3 separate regions of the Homo sapiens genome follow, and all the other regions are linked to region 3. Evidence: promoter capture Hi-C in 16 types of primary human blood cells and fetal thymus (Javierre and others, 2016). All regions are on one chromosome and are shown on one strand. Each heading gives the region's core, a stretch centred on a gene start or on the middle of the fragment in contact. The rest is flanking DNA. Distances are from core to core; before and after follow the strand shown. Region 1 overlaps BBOX1-AS1 (BBOX1 antisense RNA 1). Region 2 overlaps BBOX1-AS1 (BBOX1 antisense RNA 1). Region 3 holds the start of LGR4 (leucine rich repeat containing G protein-coupled receptor 4).

Region 1 (4,424 bases), core at 576-3,075, 290 kb before region 3:
TGAAGCACAAATGGAAAACACTTTGCCCACAGTAGGAAGGAATTCATCAGGAATTCATCTTGGGCCTGCCTGTGAGTCCACTTGTTTTCCTCATTTTTAATTACAAACAAGCTGCCTCATGTGTTTTCTTTTTCTGCTACCAGAACGTACTGTCAATGAGCTTTGTTTTGGTCCAAATATTGATGCAGCAAGTGTTCGTCAGCAAGTCTGAGCCCTGGTTCCAGCAGCGTGTTGAGGGATTCCAACACTTTGGGCCAATAGTCAGACTTCGTTATGACTTCCTGCTCCTCTCCAAAGGCCTGGTGGGGCACGTAGGATGTAGTGGAAAGAACACAGAGTGCAGAGACTGAAGATCCAAGTTGCAGACCTCCCACTTGCTTTTTATTTGACCTCATGCAAGTTCCTTGAGGTCTCTGAACCTTGCTTTCTTCATCCATAGGTGAGTTCATATGAAAAAGCAAGTATGGAAATATTTTCTAGACCCTAGGTCTCTGGAAAGTTAAGGTGCTATCTTGTATATCAAACAACTTGGTCTGCTAAAGGAATAAATGTGTCCCTCCCAGGCAGAAAACTGCTGTGGCCCACTTTTGGGTGAAAGTTAAGTAACCACTGCTAAAAGGCAGCTATGAAGAAAAGGTCAGCTATTGTCTCTTCTGGGAACTCATCAAAAACATAATTGCTCAATGACTGGAAAATATGCCCATTTGTAAATGGGTGGCTGCTGTCTTCCCACTCTTTGCCAAGACTCTCTCATCATCAGCTTGACTGTAAGGAGAGAAACTCCGAGCAAAAATGAGTCCTGCCTCAGGGTACCTCTGGAGAGACTTCCACATTGCTGTTGGCTCCTCTGCCAAAGATATTCTGTCAAGTTCAGTTAAGGAGCCCCAGACAGTATGGCTGTGTTACCACACAAGATTTCTGCGCTTGCCATATGCACGCAGGTCTGCAGAGCCAGCAGCCAGCAGCTGTGTTTACAATTTCCCATCACCCTTGTTAATTAATGAATTCATTTTGGGCCTATTACTTACCCTGAGTAGGCTTCTGCAGCATGGGGTGGCTGCGGGTCATCCCTGCAGGAGAGCCATATGACAACTGGGCACTGTTTATTGTTGTTGTTGTTGTTGTTTTTGAGACAGAGTCTTGCTCTGTCACCCAAGCTGGAGGGCAGTGGTGCATCTCGGCTCACTGCAACCTCCACCTCCCGGGTTCAAGCGATTATCCTGCCTCAGCCTCCCGAATAGCTGGCATTACAGGCGTGCACCACCAGACCCGGCTAATTTTTGTACTTTTAGTAGAGACAGGGTTTCACCATGTTGGCCAGGCTGGTCTCAAATTCCTGACCTCAGGTGATCCCTATGCCTCAGCCTCCCAAAGTGCTGGGATTATAGATGTGAGCCACCATGCCCAGCTTAGGCACTGTTCTTGATTGGAGGCAGTGCAGGGTATGTCCCGGGGATGGGTGAAAAGGTGGTTAAGAGAACATAAAGCAATTTTTATGCACCAGGGCTAAGCATTGCCTTCCTCCATTACTAAGACCCAGTCAGCTTTAAAGAGGCTCTCAGCTTTTGTTTCCATGATTTTGAAGATAATGGTTTCCAAATTGCCAATGTGCAGCACATTTCAGATAAAATCCCAAACAAAATGTCTGTGAAGATATGAACTAAAATCATAACCACTTCCATTGAAATATTACTTATCCCCTGCATTGTAAAATTTTCCCATAAACCTGATCCCAAGGGCATAAAGAAGTGACTACCAGATCCCATGGCAATTCCAAGGGAGAAGAGAATCCTGTCTTATTTTCTAATAAGTCCTGCTTTGTAGTAGACTTTATTTTTGGAAGGCTCTAAAATGGGAAGCAGGGGAATAGGGAACTAGGAAATGAATTCAGTCTTTTACAGTTTTACTCTCTGGAAACAAAAGTGTCTACTTGTGTGGTTGTGATGGCAAATGAGTGGTATCCTCAAACCCCACTGCTCTGTGGGACCAGAATCAAACAAAAAGAACAGAAAAGGATTACTATCAAAATATTCATGAGGTTATATAAAAAAAAAAGTACCATGATTAGACAGTCTTTGTTTTTCATAAGAGACTATTCCTGTCTTTTAAAACAAAGATCTAACAAAGTCTTTGTGATTATCTAATAGAAAAAAATTTTTTGCAATACCAGAGGCTTAGTGAGCAGAATTGAACCCAAAGTTTTGCATTCTAATTCTGGCTCTATCACCAACCATCTGTGTAACCTTTGACTACTCCTCTCCCCTTTGGTTTTTACATTTCTCATCTGCACAATAACACTAAAAATAATTGGGCTCCTTCCCTTTTCAGGACTCTTGATTTCAAACAGAGGATGGAGGGGAAACTGATTTATAAACATAAAGGATGGCTATGATAATGAAGATTATATTCTAGGGCAGAATTTTAAACATTCTGTTTGTTGTTTTCCTTCTTAGAAAGATTTCTATAAAGCTATTTGTTTCAAAACTTAAAAAAAAAAGAATGTTAAATTTTATCCCATTGTATAATGTCTGGTGGATTGGGGTATGTATGTATTTAAGTTTTCCATCCAAAACATGATTTACAAAGACAGGTAAGGAATACATCCTTTAAAAATTTTATGTATTTTATTTTATTTTTTCTATTCTATTCTATTCTATTCTATTCTATTCTATATTTTATTTTATATTTTATTTTGATGGAATCTTGCTCTGTCTCCCAGGCTGAAGTGCAGAGGCTCAGTCTCTGCTTACTGCAACCTCCGCCTCCTGGGTTCAAGCAATTATCCTGCCTCAGCTTTCTGAGTAGCTGGGATTACAGGTGCCTGCCACTATGCCCAGCTAATTTTTGTATTTTTAGTAGAGACGGGGTTTTGCCATGTTGGCCAGACTGGTATCAAACTCCTGACCTCAGGTGATCCCCCCGCCTTGACCTCTCAAAGTGCTGGGATTACAGGCGTGAGCCACCGGGCTCAGACTAAAAATGTCATTTTAAAAAAGAGAAATAAAACAAATGTTAGCCTAATAAGAAGAATATGAATGAGCATTTTATGAAGTACAGCAAATACCAAGTGACAACAGATTGAGTGTGCCTAGGAAGTAAACTCCATATACACTGTCACCCCTAAATGAGCATAGATACCCTGGAGGGAATATATTGATATATTCCTAGGATCATCTAGACTCAACATTTATGTCAGTGAAATCAGCATTTTTGGATGGAGTCACATAATTTACTCTACAGTATTATCTTTATAGCTGGGAAAGAAAGAAAGAAAAGAGAAAGAGAGAGAAAGAAGGAAAGAAAAAGAAAGAAATAGAGAGAAAAAGAAAGAAAGAGAGAGAGAAAGAAAGAAAGAAAGAAAGAAAGAAAGAAAGAAAGAAAGAAAAAAGAAAAAGAAAGAAATTAAAACCTAGTTATGAAAGTTATTATGCTGAATGAAAAAAGCCAGTCTCAAAAGGTTGCACAGTGTATGGTTCCATTTATAATGACATTGTAAAAAAGACAAAATTACAATAGCAGAGAATGATCAGTGGTCAGCAGTGATTAAGGGTGGAAGCAGGTGTGCCTACTGAGGAATAGCACAAGAGAGTTTGGGGGCTTACTGAACTGTAGTGCATCCTAATTGTGATGGTGGTCACACAAATCCACACATGTCTTAAAATTCATAGAACTGTACAGCAAAAAAGTCCATTTCACTATACGATAATTTAAAAATAAAATTAACAAAAGTGATAAAATGCAAAAATAATCACATTGTTCAATTACATGCAGCAGAAGTCCAGCCTTGACCTCTGATATGTCACTAGATTTATTAAAAAAAAAAAAAAAAGTTTTACAGTGGCTCTTTTCTAACTTTAATAAGCACATAAAATCCTTGGGGCTTTGGTTAGGATGAAGATTCTCATTCAGTGGATCTGAGATGGGACCTGAGTATAATAACTAGGTGATGCCCTTCTGTGTCTGTAGACAACACTGAGAGATGTGTAGGCTTTGTATTATTTAATTCATTTAAAGCAATTATGGCAAGTATGTGTTGTTTAGAGCAATTATGGCAAATATGTGTCATATGCCAATCACCCCCATTCCTCACCCATAGCAGAGATCACTCATTGTTCAAACATAAGTTCCTCCTGAGCCTAAATATGCCCATTAGATAGAGCACTGTAGAGGGCAGGCGCTGCTTATAAGAGTGGTCATGTGAGATGGAACGTGGAGGACTGATGTTAGTCCCATCCAGCGGCATTACAGAGAAATCCACCAAGAAAACTCACATCCTTTCTGGGGTCTTACTGTCCTATCTCCAAAACTCTGTGTGTTCTAGACAAACTAGCCACAGTCAATAACAGATATATCTTTCCTTCCAGCTAAGATAAGCAAGCTTGTCTTTCTGACCAGTCTGTCAGAAGCCTAATTGAAAAATAAAA
Region 2 (4,417 bases), core at 1,356-3,855, 280 kb before region 3:
AATCAAACTATTAACTTTTTTTAATGATGAATTTTTAACTATAAATAGAAAATGTGCCTTTTTTAAGAAAAAAAGCTAAATGAATAATTTTTCCAAAATTAATCTCTTTTTTTTTTGGTTCCAGAACCAAAAAAAAAGTGGAATATGATATTAATTTTGCATTATGAGGTGATCAGCACTTCCAACCAGCCCTCTGTTTTATTCTTAAGATCCTCTAGTTTTCCACATGGACACTAACACAACAAGAAAATTCCTCTGTATAGAAACTGGAATATAATCCCATAAATTATCATGTTTTATGACTGGAAAATATTTGCCAATGAAGAAATTGTCTGTAGGTATTTGTCTTAAGATTTTTGGCTGTTTAATAAAAATATAACTTTATTAAAAAAAAGAGAAAATTCCTCTGTACCCCCAACTTTCAATTTTAAGAAGTAAATAATCCATGCAGACAAAAACAAACACGAATTTTCTCAACCCTATCCTCTTGCTTCCTAAAGCAAGCAAAAGCAAACAGGTGATAAAGAGGTGAAGGGCTAAGAAGAGAGAGAACTAGAAAGATTTTTCAAAAAAATCAAATCTGCTCACAACATTCCCCTTCTCACAAGCTTTCATGTCTGTCTACAGCCAACAGAATGGTCCAGCTTTTTAGAGAAGTCAAGAGCCCCACACTTACCCTTCTTTCCCCATCCTAACACCATCTTCTTATGCTTTGCTCCTGCCATGCCAGTCTGCCAGCATTTCTCCAGACACACTCTGCACTTCCACGTCTAATTCCTTTGGTATTCAGTGGGCTTCTTGCAGACAGTGGCTGGTCTTAGTGGTATTTGTGTTCTCACCAGCTTGCAGGATGCCTCACTACTTATAGTCTATGAGTGTTTCTTAAATTGAGATTCCTGAATGTATTTAAAGTCTCCAACTTTGTCAGCTTTCTTAACATGCCATTTATTAGTAGGCTAAGAAGTCTCTGGGTAAGTCACAGGCACACACACAAAAAAACAAGTTTCTATGATCAGACGAAAGTACAGGGAAATGCACACTCATGGATGAAGCGTAAATAGTATAACTTTTCTAAAGAGTAATTTAAACATACCTTTTCAGAAGTAGGAATGCCACTCTTGACCTAGCAGTTCCACTTCTGAAAATTTAATCTAAGAATCTTGTATATGTATAAGCAAGTTTATCACAGCAATGTTTATAGTTTCAAAATATTGTAAACAATCAAATTTCTTAACAATGAGAGATGTATTAACTAAATAATGGTTCATTCATGTAATAGAATGAGAGTGTGTGCTCAATAAATGTGAGAAAATGAAAGAACCATATCATAGAAGTATTTGCAGCCTTGGAACAAGGACAATGTTATACTAACAAATAAAAAATATAGTCTGCTATCATAATCAAATTTTTTAAATAAATGTTTTCTTTATAGAAAATGTCTAAAAGAACATGTGATTATTTTTAATTATTTGAGTGACTGTAAAAGTTTAAAATGAGAAAAATAAGATACTGTGAAGTCAGGTAAACACTGTATCTTAATAGGAACATGTCAAACTGCCCTGGGCAAGCTTTGTTCTTCTGAATAAAGTAATACAGAAAAAGTCCATTAGCTTAATGTGTTAGTTTGCAAGCCACTGAAAAATCTTAGCCATGTCAGTGGATCAACCCAGACACATACTGGAAGACACCCCACCATGGAAAGCTGAGATGCCCACATTACATAAGCAACATTGTCCTTACATCAGCTAATGCATTTTTAAAGAACTGAAATTTTTATTGCTTTTTTTTTTTTTTAGAATTCCTCCTCTTACTGCACCTATCTCACCACCCACATGCTCAGCTCAATCATCTCATCAAAGAGAGAATGAAACTGTTTTTCTATGTCCTCCCCCTATTCTCATCTGAACAGAGTTCGCTTGAAACCCATTCATCAACCAGAAAAATCTCTAGTTGAGACTAGAACATCTTAAAAACACACAGAGAAAGATAAACAGAAAACTGAATTACACTTTCTTGGACATTTCAACCCCCAGTGGGCTTTCAAATTCCATTTTGGGTCATTATTGGGTAGCTTCATTGATTCACCTCATGGTTTCAAACAGAGCTCTCAGTCTGCAAGAATGAAGATGTTATCACCAAGAAAGTGAAGGGCCTGGGAGACAGCTGCTTGCTTTTACAGGGACTGACGTATCTGGAAGAAGAATCAGCCTGGCTTCTGAATATAAATAGGAATTAGTTAGGTAGACGTAGAACAAATAAGCACAGTGATTGAGAGACCTTTCCCACAAAGCAAGTCCCCGTAGAGGAGGGGAAAAGACCAGACACCTGAACCCTCCCTAGGGTCTCTCCCAGACTCAGAGTTAAAAGGAAAACAGGCTTTGGAGTTGACAACCCTGATTAAGAATGCTGATTTGGCCACCTCGTAATGGTATGTGCCAGGCAAGTTACAAAATTCTAAGTCTCCGTTTTCCTGCTGGGGAAGTGGGTGCAGTAACACCTACCTCACAGAGTTGTTGGGTGTAATTTGAACTAACACAGGAATTCATGCCTTGCCAATCTTGAGGACTAAATAAATGGTGATATTCTTTGAGGAGGGGAAGAGAAGCCAGGCAGGGTACAGTGAACATTTTTAGGATGGAGATTTCCAAATATTATCTTTTAGTCCCAGAGGATCAGGCAACATCCACCAACCAGAGCAGGAGGGACCAGTTGAATTCTCTGTCTAGCTGTCTCCACCCAGCTAGAGGTCAGGGTTACTCTGGTCTTTCCAAGGAAGAAAGCAAGGATCCTGTTTTTAGGATCAGCTTATCTCCCTCACTAGCCTCATGCTCTTTGGTGTCTTTTTCTACAATTTTCAGGATAGGTAACGTAGATGATTACCCATGAGGGTAAGCGTCTACATGTCATCAGAAAATTTGATTAAACACCCACCCATGGCTGTGGTTTGAGGGATTTTGAGGCACAGACCAGAAAATAAACAGGGGAAGGGATTAAAGAGAACAAGAATTACCAGATGGAACTGGCATCCTTCACGGATGGTGCATTTGAGTTATTGGAGTTTAATCATAAACCCATCATTTGGAAATGCAAAACTCACTGATGTGCAGGGCTTGACATTTTTCAGCTGATGCACTCCCTGCCAAATGAGATCTCACTTGCCTGAATGAGGCAAGCAGGGAAACCAAGGTCGTTTCCAGGGGCCTCCCTGGGTCATTTCCCATCACCTTGCATGCCAGCACACTTTCTGTCTCTCTTTTTCTGTCTCTCTCTGTCTCTCTCTCTTTCTTTCTGGTGATACACACACACACACACACACACACACACACACACACACACACACACACAGCCACAGATCCCCGTAAGAATGATAAAAGCAATGGCTAAAGCAAAGTGACAAACAGCCTTCCTGAAGTAAAAGGCTCATTGGCCTGGAAGGAATCTCAGACATCATGTCCCCTATCTGTCTGATAAGATTTCATCTGAAATCTTTCCCGGCTGAGTGGAGATCAGGCCAGTCCAAAAGATCACCATAAAATCGATTCCCACATATTAATTCATTCATCCATCACAACAACAGATACGTATTAAATGGTAAAGATATTAATAATAGAAGTGTGCATTTATTAAAACCCTACAGTGCACAAAGCTTAAGGGTGAGCAAAGCAGGCACTTTGCACAGAGCTAAAGACTTTCCATAGGAGGAAGATATTAAATAAATAACTACAAATAAAAGTGGATAGTTACAACCTCTAGCAAGTGCTGTGAAAGAGAGGAGGTTCAGAGAGCTCTAAGAATGGCCAATGTGGAGACCTGCCTACATCTAGGGATAATCTTGGTTTGTTCAAGGAACTCAATGAAGGCCAGGGTACTCAGAGCAGGTGGAATAAGAATCTAGAGAGATGGGCAGGGGCTAGACAATACTGGTCTCCCTGAGCTTGGAAGGATTTTATTCTTTATCCTGAGAGCAGTAGGAAGCTTATCCATGGAATTAAATCTTAAATAAGGCAGACAGAACAGGGCTAGTTTACATCCACTTCATCAGAGTATGGGTCTCTGGAGTCCAGGGCTGCAGACTTAGACCCCCTTAAAGCTAAACAGTATCACAGAGAGAAAACATTATCTATCCATCCCCCACACCAGGAAGACGCCCTTTCTCAGAGGCTGCTTATGGGTTACCATCATTTGAATCTGACACATTTATTGAGTTACCCCCACCTCCACCCCATGTCTGACCTAGTGTTGGCAGCTGGGAAGACGCAAGTAGACACAGATAAACAACCTAAAATCCAGGACAAAATATTACAGGTGCTAATAAAGGAGGTACTGAAAATGCAGCCAAGAGGGGCAGCAAGGTTCAACCAAAAGATACAGGGCCTGGACCCTGGGCTCAAGTTATGACTGTGCCACTTATGAGCCA
Region 3 (4,746 bases), core at 2,138-4,637:
CCATGCCACGGTTCTGCTCCTCGGTGTGGCCTTGCATCCTTATTTATTCACTCCAGCATTTTTAAGTGCCTCCTATGTACCGGGCTCTGGGGATCCCAAGTTGAGTAAAATAAAATCACTGCCCTGTCAGTCCCAGGATCTTTAAAGTGAAATGCACCCCCCACCCCTGTCCCCAGGGAAGGTGAAAGCACTACTCCAGGACAAGCCATTGAGCAATGAGAAGAAAATGAAGAACTCTGATTAGTAATTATAGTTTCATCTTTTTAACTTCTACTTTCATGATTGTAATTTTCTGTATAACTACAGAGGTTTTTGGTTCACATGCTCCAGCAATTAAGAATAGGTGAACAAACGCTTAGAGACCACGGAACTAGTCTCCTGATGTGTAACTGTATCTCAGTAAAGCTGCGATGGGAGAGCAGACTGGAAGTACTTGGAAAAAGACCCTAGGTGATCGCAACATGTCCCATATATGATCGACTGGAGTGTGCAAACCTGCAGCACTGGCCTTGCTTCATACATTGCTTTTGAGAATCACTGAATGAGCTAGTTTCCCCATGAGTAAAATGCAAATATGCTGTCCTTGAAAACCCTTTTAGAGAGGGTGGTTATATATATTTTTGAGGGTGAAATGAGTACTAAGGAGAAATAAGGAGTCACCAGAATGTACGATCACTCTACCTACAGGTCACAAATCTAAGAAAATAAAACACATTTGCACACCACCAAAGCTCAGAAAGTGCTAAGATAATGCTAGTTTAGGCACTCTAATTGAGACTGGTACCAATTATTTTTCTGTTTCCTAAGCCATGAACACTAACTTATTCTAAGGCCCAAAGTTGAAGATACAGCATTTCACCACCTTCAGTGAGTTCTACCAGAAGATGCTTTGGAGAGAGGAGTATGCTCTCATAAAAGTGTGATTATTTCTCTGTGGTTTTAGATACTAATGTAAAACAGCCCGTTTCCTTATAGGACAAGTCTACTCACTAAAATGTGAGGAATCTGCTAAACAAGGTCTTTACTACTGGTCAAAATAGTAAAATTGTGCTTTTCTATTCTATGCAGAGCCTTGCAAGAGGTTCAGGTAAAGGGACCTTTCTTTCTGCATTTCTTTCTGCACGAATTCCCTAAACGTTTCTAGAGAACTTGGGGAAAAATTAGTCCCATTTCCTCTCCACAGGTCTTCTTTCTCTTGATTCAATCAATTCCTGCTCAAACTTTCCCACTTAATGTAACTTTATGAACAAAATGCTCTTCACTGCAAAGTTAACTTTTTTTTTTAATGACAAGTTAAACTTCACTATACTGAAAAAAAAAAAAAACCTCAAATACATAACTAAAACTAACCTGAGACAGGAAAAATAACAAATGGGGAGGGGAAGGCTGAAGGTAGAAGAATGAAACAGGTTCCAAGACAACAGGCCTCGATGCTCACTAAAAGTCCATCCTGAGAGGGCAAGCGGAACACCTTTGCCACCACCCACCTGGAAATACAGCAATGCTCCTGCCTGCATAAAGATTTCTTCACAGGGTCCTTTAAAACTGTCTATTTCTAAGAGGTCCCTTCCACTACAGGTAAAAGGAAATTCCCTCTACCCTAGGGCCCCTCAGGATCCCTTCCTCTCTCACACGTTTCTTCGACTGCTCCTGATTTAAGCATTCAGCTGGCCACGCAACGCAAGAAGCAATAAGAACACAAAAACCCTACCCTGTTCCTCCTCTATCCGTGGCCTTTGCCACCACCTCCACAACCTAGTTCAGATTCCTCTTCTTTTCTCAAGGGAACGTCTAAAGCTCTCAAGTCCGTTTTGGCAGGGCGATTTTGTAAGTCTGAAACATTTCAGTGTGTCTCTCGATCTCAGGCAGCTCAAAAGAAAAGATCTGCTGGCTGCGTGAAGGTGCATTAGAAACCTGCTGCTACCTTGCAGCCTGGGCTGAGCATATGCTCCGGAACTTGCTTCTCTTCCAACATCCTGCACCTCAGGTCAGCATTCCTTCTTTAAAAGGCCTTGTTGGGTAAGAGCATGTCCACCAACAGAACCCTGTAATTCTCCCTTGTTTTCTCGGACTCCCCTGCGTGCTGCAGAAGCCTGGGCGTTAGTGGGGTAGTCCCGAGTGGAACTGGGCCGAGGTAGGTGCCGGGACGCACTACCTGGATGGGGCCAAATTGGAAGGAGATTCGCCCTGACTGAGGTACAGGTGTTTCTTCTCCCCACATGCTGGAACCCAGGAGGCTCCAGGTGCTTCCCCACGAGACATGCCTCGGTATGCAGACTGAGGCCAAGTTCTCGGCGCCCTCAGCCCCGCCAGTAGCGGAACTCCTGCCCGCTGAGCGAGGGCCCTCATGAGAAGGGAAGGTCGCGTGGACAGGCTGCCAGGGGCAAGCGTTTTTAGATTACTTCCTCCTTCTTGGCCCCAGATGCACTTGTGAGTTGGGGGTGTGCGCGGTGGGGTGGGAGGGTGCTTGTGCCCAAAAAGTCTGGGAACGAAAGCTACTGCTGGCTCGAACCCGGACTAGCAAAGTGCGGAAAGCCCGTGGCACAGGAGTGGGTGCCAGGCAGCCCGCACGCAGGTGACCGGCGGACCCCCTCCCCAGGCCCGGGCGGCGGCGGGGCGGGGTGGGGTGGGACTGACCCCTGGCTCCGCCCCGCGGCGCCCCCCGCTGGGCCCCGTTTCCTCCCCCCCCCTCGCGTCCCCGCCGCCCGCACTCACAGCGCTTGGGTGAAGGCGCTGAGCCCCTCGGGCACGGCCGTCAGCCCCTTCCCGGAGCAGTCCACCCGACGGTCGCCGTCGCAGCTGCAGGGCGCCGCGCAGAGAGGCGGCGCCGCGCCGCTGGGCCCGGCCGAGCCGAGCAGCCCCAGGGCGAGGAAGCAGAGCAGCCCTAGCGGGCCCGGCATTGCTGCGGCCGCCTCCCGCGCCGGCCTCTCCCGCGGCGCTGCTCGCTCCGCTGCCCTCCGATGTCCCCCGCCGCCCCCGGGCAGCCGGCCTGCGGGCTGGAGCGGGGGTCTCTTCCTCGGCGGTCCGCGCGGGCTCGGCCCCTTCAGCAGTCCGCCGCAGCGGCGCAGGGACGCGGCGCTCCGGAGTTTCGCCCTTCCCGCTGCTCCATGGACGCGCAGAGGCAGCCCCGCTCCTCCGGCGGCTCACGCCAGCCGGGCCGGCCCGGCGCAGCGGCGGGGGCCGCGCTCTGCCATCGCACCGGTCTCCCTGTCCCTGGCCTCTCAATGCAGCGGCTCTTCAAGGTTGCAGAGCGCAGCCTTCAGCCATGCCGGCCACTCGCCCCAGCCCCCGCCGTGGCTCTCGCACAAACACCCAGACTCTGGCTCGCTGTCTCCCAGCCGCGGCTCAATCTCTTCCCGTCCTTTTCCCTTCTAGGGTTGCACGCTCTGGTTCCCAAACCCCCGGCCGCTGGCTTATGCAAATCACTTAGGTACATGCAAAAGTATCCCTTCTCCCGGAGCGCCATTGGCCCGGGGAGGTCTCGAGCTCATTACTATGCAGAGAGGAGAGCCGCCATTGGCCAAGAGGAGGACCAGAGGGGCGTGTTTCTCGGGCGTGAGTGACAAGGTGGTGGTGGTTGTGGTGGTGGCGGCGGTGGTGGTGGTGGTGGTGGCGGCGGTGGTGGTGGTGGTGGTGGTGGTGGTTCAAGGCAAAATCTTGACTTGGCTGGATTTGTCTGGCAGGTTGTGGATTGAAGGTAGAAGGATAGTAGGACAAGGGGTCTAGTTTTTCCCTCCCCCACCCGTCTTTTTGTTCCCTCCGCAGAAATTGGATCTCCTAAATTGGATGACCTGGTAAGTAGAACTTCCCTCCAGCGTTCAGTTAAGTTTTAAATGACTCTCCGCTGTTCCAAAGGGCGAGGACGTCTGGAGCTCTGCAAACGGAAAAAAGATTTTGAAGAGGAGGAAAAAAGTTTCCCTCGATCTGACACACATCTTTGGGTTTTAGCTATACACTAAGTTAAAAGTGTACCCTCTCCAGTGCCTCACTTCACCTGGGATCTTTACACCTATCTTGATACACATTTGGTAGCTAAGTCTTAGCAATTCATTCTCCCCAGTCCTCTCTCTGTATTTGGTGTTTTTGGTGACTGCAAATTAGACTCCTTTCTCACGCACTTTAAAATCCTGAAACACAGGAATTTTGTAAAAGGTCAGAGAAAGTGATGTTTCTGAACACTGGACAATTTCCAAAACATCTGAGTGGGAGGTGACTACGGCTGAGAAGCCAGCAGCAACGTTGGTGTTAGGTAATTATCAGCATTCCCTCCTCTTCTGGATTTTGAGTCCCTGTGGCCTAATAGACCCCACGGAATCATTACCTGTACCAACTACGGCTTTAAGGGTACTTCGTTTCTTGCTCTCTGCCATGGCGTTGAGTCGTTTTACTCTATAATGGAGACATTTTTAATGAATACATTAAAACAAGCAGGATTCGGCCGGGCGCGGTGGCTCACGCCTGTAATCCCAACACTTTGGGAGGCTGCGGCGGGCGGATCACCTGAGGTTGGGAGTTCTAGACCACCCTGACCAACATGAAGAAACCCCGTCTCTACTAAAAATACAAAATTAGCCGGGTGTGGTGGCAGATGCCTGTAATCCCAGCTACTCGGGAGGCTGAGGCAGGCGAATTGCTTGAGCCCGGGAGGCGGAGGTTGCGGTGAGCTGGAGATCGCGCCATTGCATTCCAGCCTGGGCAACAAGAGCAAAACTCTGTCTCAAAAAAAAAAAAAAAAAAAAAAAAAAA

What was found. The method cuts DNA at HindIII sites, captures the fragments that hold promoters and counts their contacts. A CHiCAGO score of 5 or more calls a contact.
Region 1: a fragment that was not itself captured here is called in contact with the fragment with the promoter of LGR4 in region 3 in 10 of 17 cell types (erythroblasts, naive CD4 T cells, endothelial precursors and 7 more); the score reaches 9.2 in erythroblasts.
Region 2: a contact is called between a fragment that was not itself captured here and the fragment with the promoter of LGR4 in region 3, in 7 of 17 cell types (erythroblasts, activated CD4 T cells, total CD4 T cells and 4 more). The highest score is 9.8, in erythroblasts.

What each region holds. Positions count from the first base shown.
Region 1 is chr11:27,178,774-27,183,197 of GRCh38, forward strand. The region is part of intron 2 of BBOX1-AS1 (BBOX1 antisense RNA 1); the gene reads right to left. Among named protein-coding and RNA genes, the nearest start is that of BBOX1-AS1, 38 kb to the right of the region's middle. The HindIII fragment of the contact is 5,101 bases long and covers 1-4,376 here.
Region 2 is chr11:27,194,395-27,198,811 of GRCh38, forward strand. The region is part of intron 2 of BBOX1-AS1 (BBOX1 antisense RNA 1); the gene reads right to left. Among named protein-coding and RNA genes, the nearest start is that of BBOX1-AS1, 22 kb to the right of the region's middle. The HindIII fragment of the contact is 2,078 bases long and covers 1,567-3,644 here.
Region 3 is chr11:27,469,403-27,474,148 of GRCh38, forward strand. LGR4 (leucine rich repeat containing G protein-coupled receptor 4) reads right to left here and starts at 3,388. Exons shown (of 18, transcript NM_018490.5): 1 at 2,716-3,388. The coding sequence starts at 2,900. It overlaps LGR4-AS1 (LGR4 antisense RNA 1), which reads left to right and starts at 2,329. Exons shown (of 4, transcript NR_131170.1): 1 at 2,329-2,430; 2 at 3,376-3,555; 3 at 3,766-3,794. RefSeq lists silencers at 2,502-2,561, 2,812-2,981, 3,112-3,161. The HindIII fragment of the contact is 11,499 bases long and covers 1-4,746 here.